2 separate regions of the Homo sapiens genome follow, and region 1 is linked to region 2. Evidence: promoter capture Hi-C in 16 types of primary human blood cells and fetal thymus (Javierre and others, 2016). All regions are on one chromosome and are shown on one strand. The core of a region is centred on a gene start or on the middle of the fragment in contact, and the rest is flanking DNA. Distances in the headings are between cores, read along the strand shown.

Evidence for each region. The method cuts DNA at HindIII sites, captures the fragments that hold promoters and counts their contacts. A CHiCAGO score of 5 or more calls a contact.
Region 1: a contact is called between a fragment that was not itself captured here and the fragment with the promoter of CACNA1I in region 2, in 1 of 17 cell types (erythroblasts). The highest score is 5.1, in erythroblasts.

What each region holds. Positions count from the first base shown.
Region 1 is chr22:40,196,085-40,201,075 of GRCh38, forward strand. The region is part of intron 1 of TNRC6B (trinucleotide repeat containing adaptor 6B); the gene reads left to right. Among named protein-coding and RNA genes, the nearest start is that of TNRC6B, 21 kb to the left of the region's middle. RefSeq lists an enhancer at 1-265. The HindIII fragment of the contact is 1,470 bases long and covers 2,135-3,604 here.
Region 2 is chr22:39,569,270-39,574,130 of GRCh38, forward strand. CACNA1I (calcium voltage-gated channel subunit alpha1 I) reads left to right here and starts at 1,484. Exons shown (of 37, transcript NM_021096.4): 1 at 1,484-1,719. The coding sequence starts at 1,484. The HindIII fragment of the contact is 9,228 bases long and covers 1-2,398 here.

The DNA.
Region 1 (4,991 bases), core at 1,620-4,119, 630 kb after region 2:
TTTTCTTTTTAATACACTGCTAGGTTGGCCCATAGTGCATCATATTGTTAACACCTTTGATTTTAAAAATTGCTTACCTCTAATGGATTTTTTTCTTTTTTTGAGACAGGGTCTCAGTCTGTTGGAGTGCAATGTCACAATCTCAGCCTCAACCTACCGGGCTCAAGCAGTCCTTCCATCTCAGCTACCAGAGTAGCTGGGGCTACAGGCTCCACCACCATGCCTGGCTAATTTTTTTGTAGAGGTGGGGCTTTCTAATGGATTTTTAATAATGTGATCTTCTTCTATCACATGTTAAATCCTAATAGTTACTGGTACTTAATAGATCTAGAGGTAAAAACCAGATAACCCACCACTGAATAAATGAGTGCCTCAGTGGTCCAGGACCCTAAAACTGGGCCTCGTTGGAGTCTCTAGGACTTGTTGGCACCTTTATTTGGAAGTCAGGGTAGAAAAAACAGCTTATTTGTTCATTTCTTTCTCCTAGAATATTTCTATTCTCCTGAGGCAGGGATGAGTTGGTTGCTCATTTTTAGATTATGGAACTCTTGCTGATGTTTTTTTCTGGAACTCTTGCTGATGTTTTTTTCTGGTTTCCCTTTGTTTGGGTCGGGGCAGTGATAGGGCAGATGTGGTTCAGGCTCGCAGTTATGACCTGTACTCTGCAGTAGCTTCTCTCTGAGGTTCTGTGTAACCAAATTTTAAAACATTGCTCTGAGTCATGCTGAGTTTTTCCATAAGGCTCTGGTCGGGGGGAAGGGACATGAACTGATTCATTAAGTGCCTATTATGCTGCACACACTTCCATTACCTCATTTAGTCCTCCCAACAACCTGATGTGGAGGATGGTTTTATCTTCATAAGAAAAAAGGAGTGCTGACAGCTCAGTGACCAGGCTGCAGCCATGTACACATGAGGAGGTGGAGGAACTGGGTGCTGTAACTCCACCAAAATTTTCTTCTCTTCCCAAGCTGCCTTAAACACAGTGCAGAGTGATTTGCTAATTGATTGGTTGAATCCCTGTATTATAAAGTGGAGTGTCTTAAAATATGGATGCAGATGACGGGAACAGCTTGCTGGCTTTATGGTGTCCTCAGCACTGCATTCATGATAAACAACAGGAGAATGAGACTGTGCTGATCGTGTGCAGAATAGGAGGTCTTTGGGAGCATCCCTGGCTGGCTGCTGAAAGGTGTTTTTCTTGTTTTTTTTTGAGACAGAGTCTCACACTGTTGCCCCTCGCTGGAGCGCAGCACATGGCTTGATCTCAGCTCACTGCAACCTCCACCTCCCGGGTTCAAGCGATTCTCCTGCTTTTCAGCCTCCCAAGTAGCTGGGATTACAGGTGCCTGCTACCACACCCAGGCTGATTTTTTGTATTTTTAGTAGAGACGGGGTTTCACTATGTTGGCCAGGCTGTTCTCAAACTCCTGACCTCATGATCTACCCCCCTCGGCCTCCCAAAGTGCTGAGATTACAAGCATGAGCCACCGCACCCAGCCGAAAGGCGTTTTTCTTTTTCTTTTTTTTTTTTTTTGAGACAAGTCTTGTTCTGTTGCCCAGGTTGGAGTGCAGTGGTGCGATTCATAGTTCAGTGCAGCCTCGACCTTCTGGGCTCAAGCTGAGATCCTCCTGTCTCAGCCACGCAAGTAATTGGGACTACAGGCATGAGCCACCGTGCCTGGCTAATTAAAAAAAACTTCTTTTAACAGAGACAGGGTCTCCCTGTGCTGCTCAGGCTGGTCTTGAACTCCTGGGCTCAAGTGATTCTCCCACCTCAGCCTCCCAAAGCGCTGGGATTACAAACATGAGCCACCATGCCTGGCCCATTTTTTCTTTTTAAGCAACATGACAGATTAACTAAAAAAGAAAAATCACTGAATGGTTAAAAAGTTTACTTCAGGTGATTAATTGAAAAACCAATTGATTAATAAAGACATTTTTAAAGGATCTAAACTGTATTGAGTTTAAGTTGTAATTCTTAAAGCATAATCAGAAGGCTTATCAAAGCTATAACGAAGAAAATAGAAGTCATTTGTAATTAGACAATAATTAAAGGCAAGTACATGCCCAGTGATTTTAAAGTGCTTGAAAACAATTAGTTTTCTTAAGTAGGTTAAATATCTGGGTTACAAGCTTGTTTACACTATTAATTTACTTAGCAAACCTGTTCTTCATAGATGATGCAAAGTTGAATTTTAGTTTGGCCGTCTGAATTATTACAAGTTCTAACTTAACAGATATTCTTTAAAAAATACATTTTTACATTAATTCTTTTTAATTTTAAAAGCATTCTTCTTTTCTCTCTCTTTTCCTTCCTGAACAGTTCAGTCCTAGAGGCTATTAAGTGGGCTCAGCAAGGTGTTGGCCTGGCCAGGGGTATCAGAGCCTGAGTAGGATGAGGAGGGAGGGTCTGGTGTGCTGTGTCAGAGCCCAGGAGAGGTGAGAAGGGCATCCATTGCTTCTGGGATGCCCTTCCTGTATTGATTGGTTGAATATAGGAGGATTGATGAAATAAGTATGTTCAGGATAATGGCCCCCAGCAGCTCTCACTGTTGAAGAACATTACAGATATTGGAAAGGAGACAGCTAGAATTAACCCTGTGATGCTAGATCGGAATCAGAAGTATTGGTGTGAATGCCTGGATTTTAATAAGGACCGATAAAAATAGCAATAAAATCTTTGCAAAAGGCATGCATGCATGTGTATTTATATGCATATGTGTGTGCACATACATACGCACATCTGTTTCCTAGTTCTGTTGGTAGTAGAGGGGGAGGGTGCCTGGGAACAGCAGTATTCCAATAGCAGTGAGTGTATCAGGTTTCTAGATCTTGGCTTCTATATCCCATTTTCCACTAAAAGGAACCCCAGCTGCTTGGAGAAATGGCTGATTATAGGATTGGAGCAGGAATGTTTAACATGAGCCTGGAACATCTTGGGTTAGAAAGCAAAGAAGTCTTCAAAGAGTGATGAAAACATGCCAAAAGGACCCAGAGTCAGTTTGAAGCGGTTCCCACTGGCCAAATCTGAGTTTATTTCAAAATTTAAGAAGTGATAGTCATGGATTAGAACCTGCTGAGTAAAAAAGAAAACTAAGAGTTCTCACACAGCTTCACCTACTTTGTAAGAAAACCTATGTACGGACTTATCAGTAAATTCAGCATTTGAAGAATGGGTTCTCTAAATTTCAAAGTACTTCTTCAAAAATACTTAATGATTACAAAGGAGAAAAAGAGCAACTTTCCAATGGAGAGGCCTGGCAGATGCCACCTTAACCAGGTAATCCCAGCAGTGGAACAAATTGAAATCATGCCACCTGCTAGGATGCAAAGAGAACACACCATTCCCTCTGCAGTGTTCCTGCCAAGGCACATGACCTCAATCTAATTATGAGGAAATGATAGGCAAACCTGGTTGGAGTGACATTCTACAAAATAACTGGCCTGTAATCCTCAAAAATTTCAGGGTCATGAAAGTCAAAGCAAGACCAAAGAATGATTCTAAACCGAAGGAGACTAAAGAGACATGTCAACTAAATGCAATATGTGATTCTGACCTCGATCTTTTTACTATAAAGGCTATTGCTGGGACAGGTGACGAAGCTTACATGGGGCTTGAGGATTTAATGATAGAAATGTATCAGCGTTAATGTTCTGATTTTGATGGTTGTATTATGGTTATGTAGGACTGTGGTTTGGTTTTTGTTGTTGTTGTTTTTCTTTTGAGACAGAGTCTGGCTCTGTCGCCCAGGCTGGAGTGCTGCAGTGGCACGATCTCAGCTCACTGCAACCTCCGCCTTCTGGGTTCAAACGATTCTCATGATGCCTCATCCTCCCTACTAGCTGGGATTAAGGCATGTGCCACCATACCCGACTAATTTTTGTATTTTTAATAGAGATTGGGTTTCACCATGTTGGCCAGGCTGGTCTTGAACTCCTGACTTCAAGTGATCCGCCCGACTCGGCCTCTCAAAGTGCTGGGTTTACAGGTGTGAGCCACAGTCCCTGGCCTAGTGATTTGGTTTTGTTTTTTGGGAAAACACATACTAAAGTATTCAGGGTGACAGGGCCTCAAGTTGACAACTTCCCCTCAATGGTTCTGGGGAGAGACAGTTCTTGGTACTATTCTTGCAAATTTACATAAGTTTGAGATTGTTTCAAAATTTTAAAATAATTTAAAAAGTAATATTCTTTTTTTTTTTTTTTTTTTTTTTTGAGACAAGAGCTTCACTCTTGTTGCTCAAGCTGAAGTACAGTGGCATGATCTCGGCTCACTACAACCTCTGCCTGCCGGGTTCAAGCGTTTCTCCTGCCTCAGCCTCCCGAGTAGCTGGGATTACAGGCGTGCACCCCCACGCCCAGCTAATTTTTTGTATTTTTAGTAGAGACGGGGTGTCATCATGTTAGCCAGGCTGGTCTCTAACTCCTGACCTCAGGTGATCTGCCCGCCTCGGCCTCCCAAAGTGCTGGGATTACAGGCGTGAGCCACCGCGCCCGGCTAAAAAGTAATATTCTTGCCTAAAATTTAAATCATGAGAAGTACATAAAATTAAATGTTCCCTATTTCTTATTTTAGCCTCCCCTTTTAAGCATTTTATTTATGTATGTATGAATGTATATGTAATATATGTTGTAGGTCATATTGAGTATTTATGATATGCTAGGCACAGGCACACTGTATTCCTGGGAATTACAATGGTCATCAGTCAAAACCCCTGCCACTAGAGCTGCATGGCCTTGTGTTATTTGGAGAAGCCATCATTTCTTTAAGTTCCCTCTCATGAGAGGCAGTGGAATGTGATGGTGGTGGGAGCTCAAGCTCTATATTCGTATCCCAGCCCTGCCAGCAACTGTGCTGAAATCTTACTCAACTTCACTGTGCCTCCGCCTCCTTATCTGCAGGCTGGAGATGTGTCTCATCCCCATTTAACAGAGCTGTTGTGAGCATCACACGTGGTGATACACGTAGGGTGCTATACTTGTGGGTG
Region 2 (4,861 bases), core at 234-2,733:
AGTTTCTTCACCTGCCAAATGGGCATAATAGTCCTCCTGAGGTTGTTGTGAGCATCAGACAAGGCCAGGGAGTAGAAGTGCTTTGAGTTGGAGTCGGAGCCAGCAAGATGATTTGCATCACCTAGAACAAAATGAAAATGTGGGACCTCTTGATAAGCAATTAAGAATTTCATGTTGGTGACAGAAGAATTCTAAAGCAAGTTCAGGGCCCTTCTGAGCACGGGGCCCTGTGCAGCTGCCTGAGCCACAGACCCAGGAAGCGGGCTCTGACCGGAATTCTTTTTTTTTTTTTTTTTTGGTGACAGAGTCTTGCTCTGTTGCCCAGGCTGGAATGCAGTGGTGTGATCTTGGCTCACTGCAACCTCCACCTCCCGGGTTCAAGTGATTCTCATGCCTCAGCTTCCCGAGTAGCTGAGATTACAGCGTGTGCCACCACACCCAGCTAATTTTTGTATTTTTAGTACAGATGAGGTCTCACTATGTTGGCCAGGTTGGCCTCAAACTCCTGACCTCAGGTGATCCACCCACCTTGGCCTCCCAAAGTGCTGGGATTACAGGTGTGAGTCACGTGCCTGGCCTTTGACTGGAATTCTATTTCTGCTGTTACTCTGCTACATGTCTGTCCTGTCCCTTCTCTGGGCCTCGGTTTCTTCATCTGTAAGGCAAGGAGGTTAGACTCTAAGATTCCTGGGTTCTCAGCCTTGTAAGGCAGTGGCTGGGAGGTCCCTGGGTCAAGGGCTCAGCTGTAGGTCTCAGCTCAGGGGTTACTTCCTCAGGGAAGCCAACTGTGATTCCCTCCTGGCTTGCCAGCGTTCCCCCAGTCTCTGATTCTGCAGCACCCCAACATTGCCTTTGTAACCTGCATTGTCCTGGCAATAATGTCTGTCTTTACAATCACCTCTTTTTTCTTGCAAGTTTTCTTTACCTTTGATGGTGCAATAAATACATAGCTCTAGTCTTGTAAAAAAGTTAAGATCCCTTCCTTCCTTCCTTCCTTCCTTCCTTCCTTCCTTCCTTTCTTCCCTCCCTCCCTCCCTCTCTCCCTCTCTCCCTCCCTTCCGTCTTTCTTTTCTGTCTATAATTACTTAAACATTTTTTCTCTTAAATAATGAAAGATTTCAAATACAGAAAATTGCCAATAGACAAAAAAAAAAGAGTTAATATCACAATTATATTCTAAGAAGGCTTTATTCTCCCCACTATCTTCGTTTGCCAAAACTGAGGCTCAGCCAGGGTGAGCAGACTTGCCCCATGATCACCCAGCTTGGAAGCAGATTCCAAGTTGGGTGCAGCTGGGCCCTCAGCTGTTTCGTAATCCTCATGCAAGAGTGAGGGTGAGGGGCCTGTGGGGCTCAGGTGGGGCTGTCAGAGCTGCATCCGTCCACTTATTGGTGGAGAGGCAGGTTGGGGAGCATGTACCAGGCCTGTCCCCACCACGTGCCACCCTCTCTGTCTTCCCCAGGGCTCCCAGCTCAGTGTGGACATGGCTGAGAGCGCCTCCCCGCCCTCCTCATCTGCAGCAGCCCCAGCCGCTGAGCCAGGAGTCACCACGGAGCAGCCCGGACCCCGGAGCCCCCCATCCTCCCCGCCAGGCCTGGAGGAGCCTCTGGATGGAGCTGATCCTCATGTCCCACACCCAGACCTGGCGCCTATTGCCTTCTTCTGCCTGCGACAGACCACCAGCCCCCGGAACTGGTGCATCAAGATGGTGTGCAACCCATATCCTCCGCAGCCTCGGCTGATCGGGGCCCTGCAGGGGCTGAAGGGTGGGGGGCTGGATTGAGTCCTGCTGCTCACACCTTGCTCCGGCTGGGAGACCTGAGGTCTGCGGTGAGGCCACTGGGCCTTGGTGGTGGTGAGCGAGCTCAGAGGGTGGGTCTGGGGAGACCTCAAATGGATGAGGACCTGGTGTTCTGCTGATGTGAAGGTTCTGGAAGTTGCTGGTGGCTGTGGGGTCAGTCCAGTGGCTGGCTGGCTCAGAAAGTCCTTGAGTGTGGGCCCCAGACCTGTGCTGGGCTGGGAATGCAGATCAGTCAGACTCTGGAGCCACCTGATGGGCCGTGACCATACAGAGGATGGGAGCCGTGATCAGGAACTGTGGGCGTGGGCAGCGGGGCAGCCGATCCCAACACACAGGGCAGGACTCATTCTCCTTACTGTGCCTCCGAGCAGCCTCTTCCCAGGCCTCCTGCCTCCACTTGCTGCCTCCAGTGGGCTCATGTTCCCCCTGCTTAAGACTGTCATGATTTGCTATGGTCCTGGAGGTGCAGAGCAAAGTCCTAATCCAACCCATCAGGGCCTGTGTGTTCCACCCAGCCTCACTTCCCACCACTTGGCTTCCCCCCTGTGCTCTTCTGAGCCTCAGGGTCCTCTCACTGGCTCTTCCCCCTGTCTGAAAAGCTTTTCCCTTCCCCCTGGACCTGGCCAAATCCTTTGCTACATCCTTAAAATCCCAGCTTAAGCATCACCTCCTCAGGGAAGCCCTCTGGGATTCCTCCTCTGCTTCATATCTAACTGTCACATCTAACTGTGGAATTCTGAATCTAACATTTGCCTCCCCTGGGGTACTGTCAGATGACTGGGATGGGGACCCTAGCACCTGGCACAGTGCTTGGCACATCGTGGGTGCTCTGGCAGTGTTTGCTGGGTGTACATGGGCAATGCCAGAGCTGACTCCTCAATAAGGAAGAGCGTTGGTTGGGTAGAGAGGGTAGTGGGAGGCAGGAGGAGGGCATGGCAGGAGCGAAGCCTGGAGAAGGGAGGAGTTGCAGGCAGTGTTGGAGCCCTGAGGGGCAGAGAGGAGTGAGGTGAGGCTGCAGGTGTGGCGGGAGCCCTGCAGGGCCTTGGAGGCTGCATGAGGGATGGGACTGTGCTCCAAGGGCAGGATTTGAAGCAGGGTCTGGAGAGATCTGTGCTCTGGAAGGACTGTGTGGCACTGGCTTGCAGGGTGAAGTGGGGGCTGGGGACCACTGAGGAGGAGGCTTGGGGACCCAAGCCATGGTGGCCTTGTGGTTTGAGGGTCCCACCAAAAAATGCCCATATGTGGCTCGAGGTTCTGGTGCTTGTGGCCACACAGGGCAGGGTGCGGGGAGCTGGTGGGTCAGGTGCAGGCCTGAGTCCTGCCCTGGAATCCAGGGATGCCAGATGCAGGCTGGGATGTTGAGACTGGCTGCAGGACTGCCAGGCTTCCCTTCTGTAGGGGGCTGAGGTGATCGTGGGCCCTGGATCCCCCTAACTTTTGGAAACCAGCGGGTCTCTGCTGGAGTGGGATGCAGAACTGGGTGTTCCTTGCTGGGTGGGGGCTAAGAGCCTCCCTGCTCCTTCTGGGGGACGGCTCACAGCGTCTCAGGCTTGGTGAGAGGGTCTGCTCGGTAATTAGTTCACCCAGCACTCACTGACATCTGCCCTGGGACACTGAGGACAAAGAGGCAGAGCTGGTGTCTGTCCCAGGGAGTGCCCGGGGAAGAGGGAAGCAGGGACCACCCATTTGGCTAGTTTTTTTTTTTAGATGGAGTCTCGCTCTGTCACCCAGGCTGGAGTGCAGTGGCGCGATCTCGGCTCACTGCAACCTCCGCCTCCCAGGTTCAAGCAATTCTCCTGCCTCAGCCTCCCGAGTAGCTGGGACTACAGGCACCCACCGCCATGCCCTACTAATTTTTGTATTTTTAGTAGAGATGGGGTTTCACCATGTTGGTCAGGCTGGTCTCGAACTCCTGACTCGTGAACCGCCTGCCTCGGCCTCCCAAAGTGCTGGGATTACAGGTGTGAGCCACTGTGCCCAGCCTACGTGGCTAGTTTTAATACAAAGCACTGGGGAAACCTCAGGGGCTTGTGGCATGTGAACAGAGGAGTGCCAGGCCTGAGAAGGGGGCGGCCGCAGGAATTTTGGGCCTTTAGGAAGAGAAAGGCTGGTAGGAGGACCAGGGGGACAATTTCACAATGTCTCAGGGGCCTTTCCTGGGTGAGATGACAAGAGTTGATTCTGGCTCTGTCACTTGGGTGCTGTGTGACCATGAGTAAGTCACTTTGCTTCTTTGAACCTTAGGGGGTCTGGATGGGCAATACTGCTCTGGGCTGGAGGCAGGGGCATGGCTCAGAGGACTTGGCCTGGGAGTCTGACCCAGCTGCGTCTCTGATGGGCTCTGGCTGGGCTGGCTGGGGTGCTGCCCACGTGTCACGGAGAGGCCCCTAGATGGGGGTGGTCAAGTCCTGTCTGCCATGTGTGTGACCCTGGGCAGTCTCCTCTCTCTGAGCCTCAGCACCTCCACCTAAAAAGGAGACGGCAGACGAATCACCCCTTCCAGCCCTGGGAGCCCAGGGTGTTAGCCACACACGCCATGGGGGCTGCCTTGATCTCAGGCACCCTGACGCCTGACCACTGAGTGAGCCAGCCCCTGGGAACCCACCCAGTTTTCCATATTTCTGGCCTGTTGGGCAAACAGAGTCCTTGGGGCCACTGTCTCCTTGGTTTTCACCACCCCTCTCACCTCCATCCTCAGGTCATGTGGGTTGTGGCCTGGGGTTGGAGACAACAGTGGGGCTGGCCCAGGAGGGAGAGGAGTACTGGTTTCGGGAGGAGCTGGGCCTGCCTCTTGTCTGTCTTGGAGAGAGCCCTGGGTCCAAGGGGTGGGGCAGAAAGCAGCCCCCCTCCATCAGGAGGGACTTTTCAGTCCCGGGAGCTGCGCAGAGCGAGGGTTCCCCCGGCATCCCCATGGCCAGGGCTGCTGAGGCTGGACTGGGATAGAGGTGGTTCAGGTCTCGGCCTTAACTGGTGGGATACGGACTCTCTTCAGGCCAGAGATGTGGCGACTCAAAAGCACAGCAACTTTAAAGGTGTCAGCTCTGGGACACTCAGACTGAA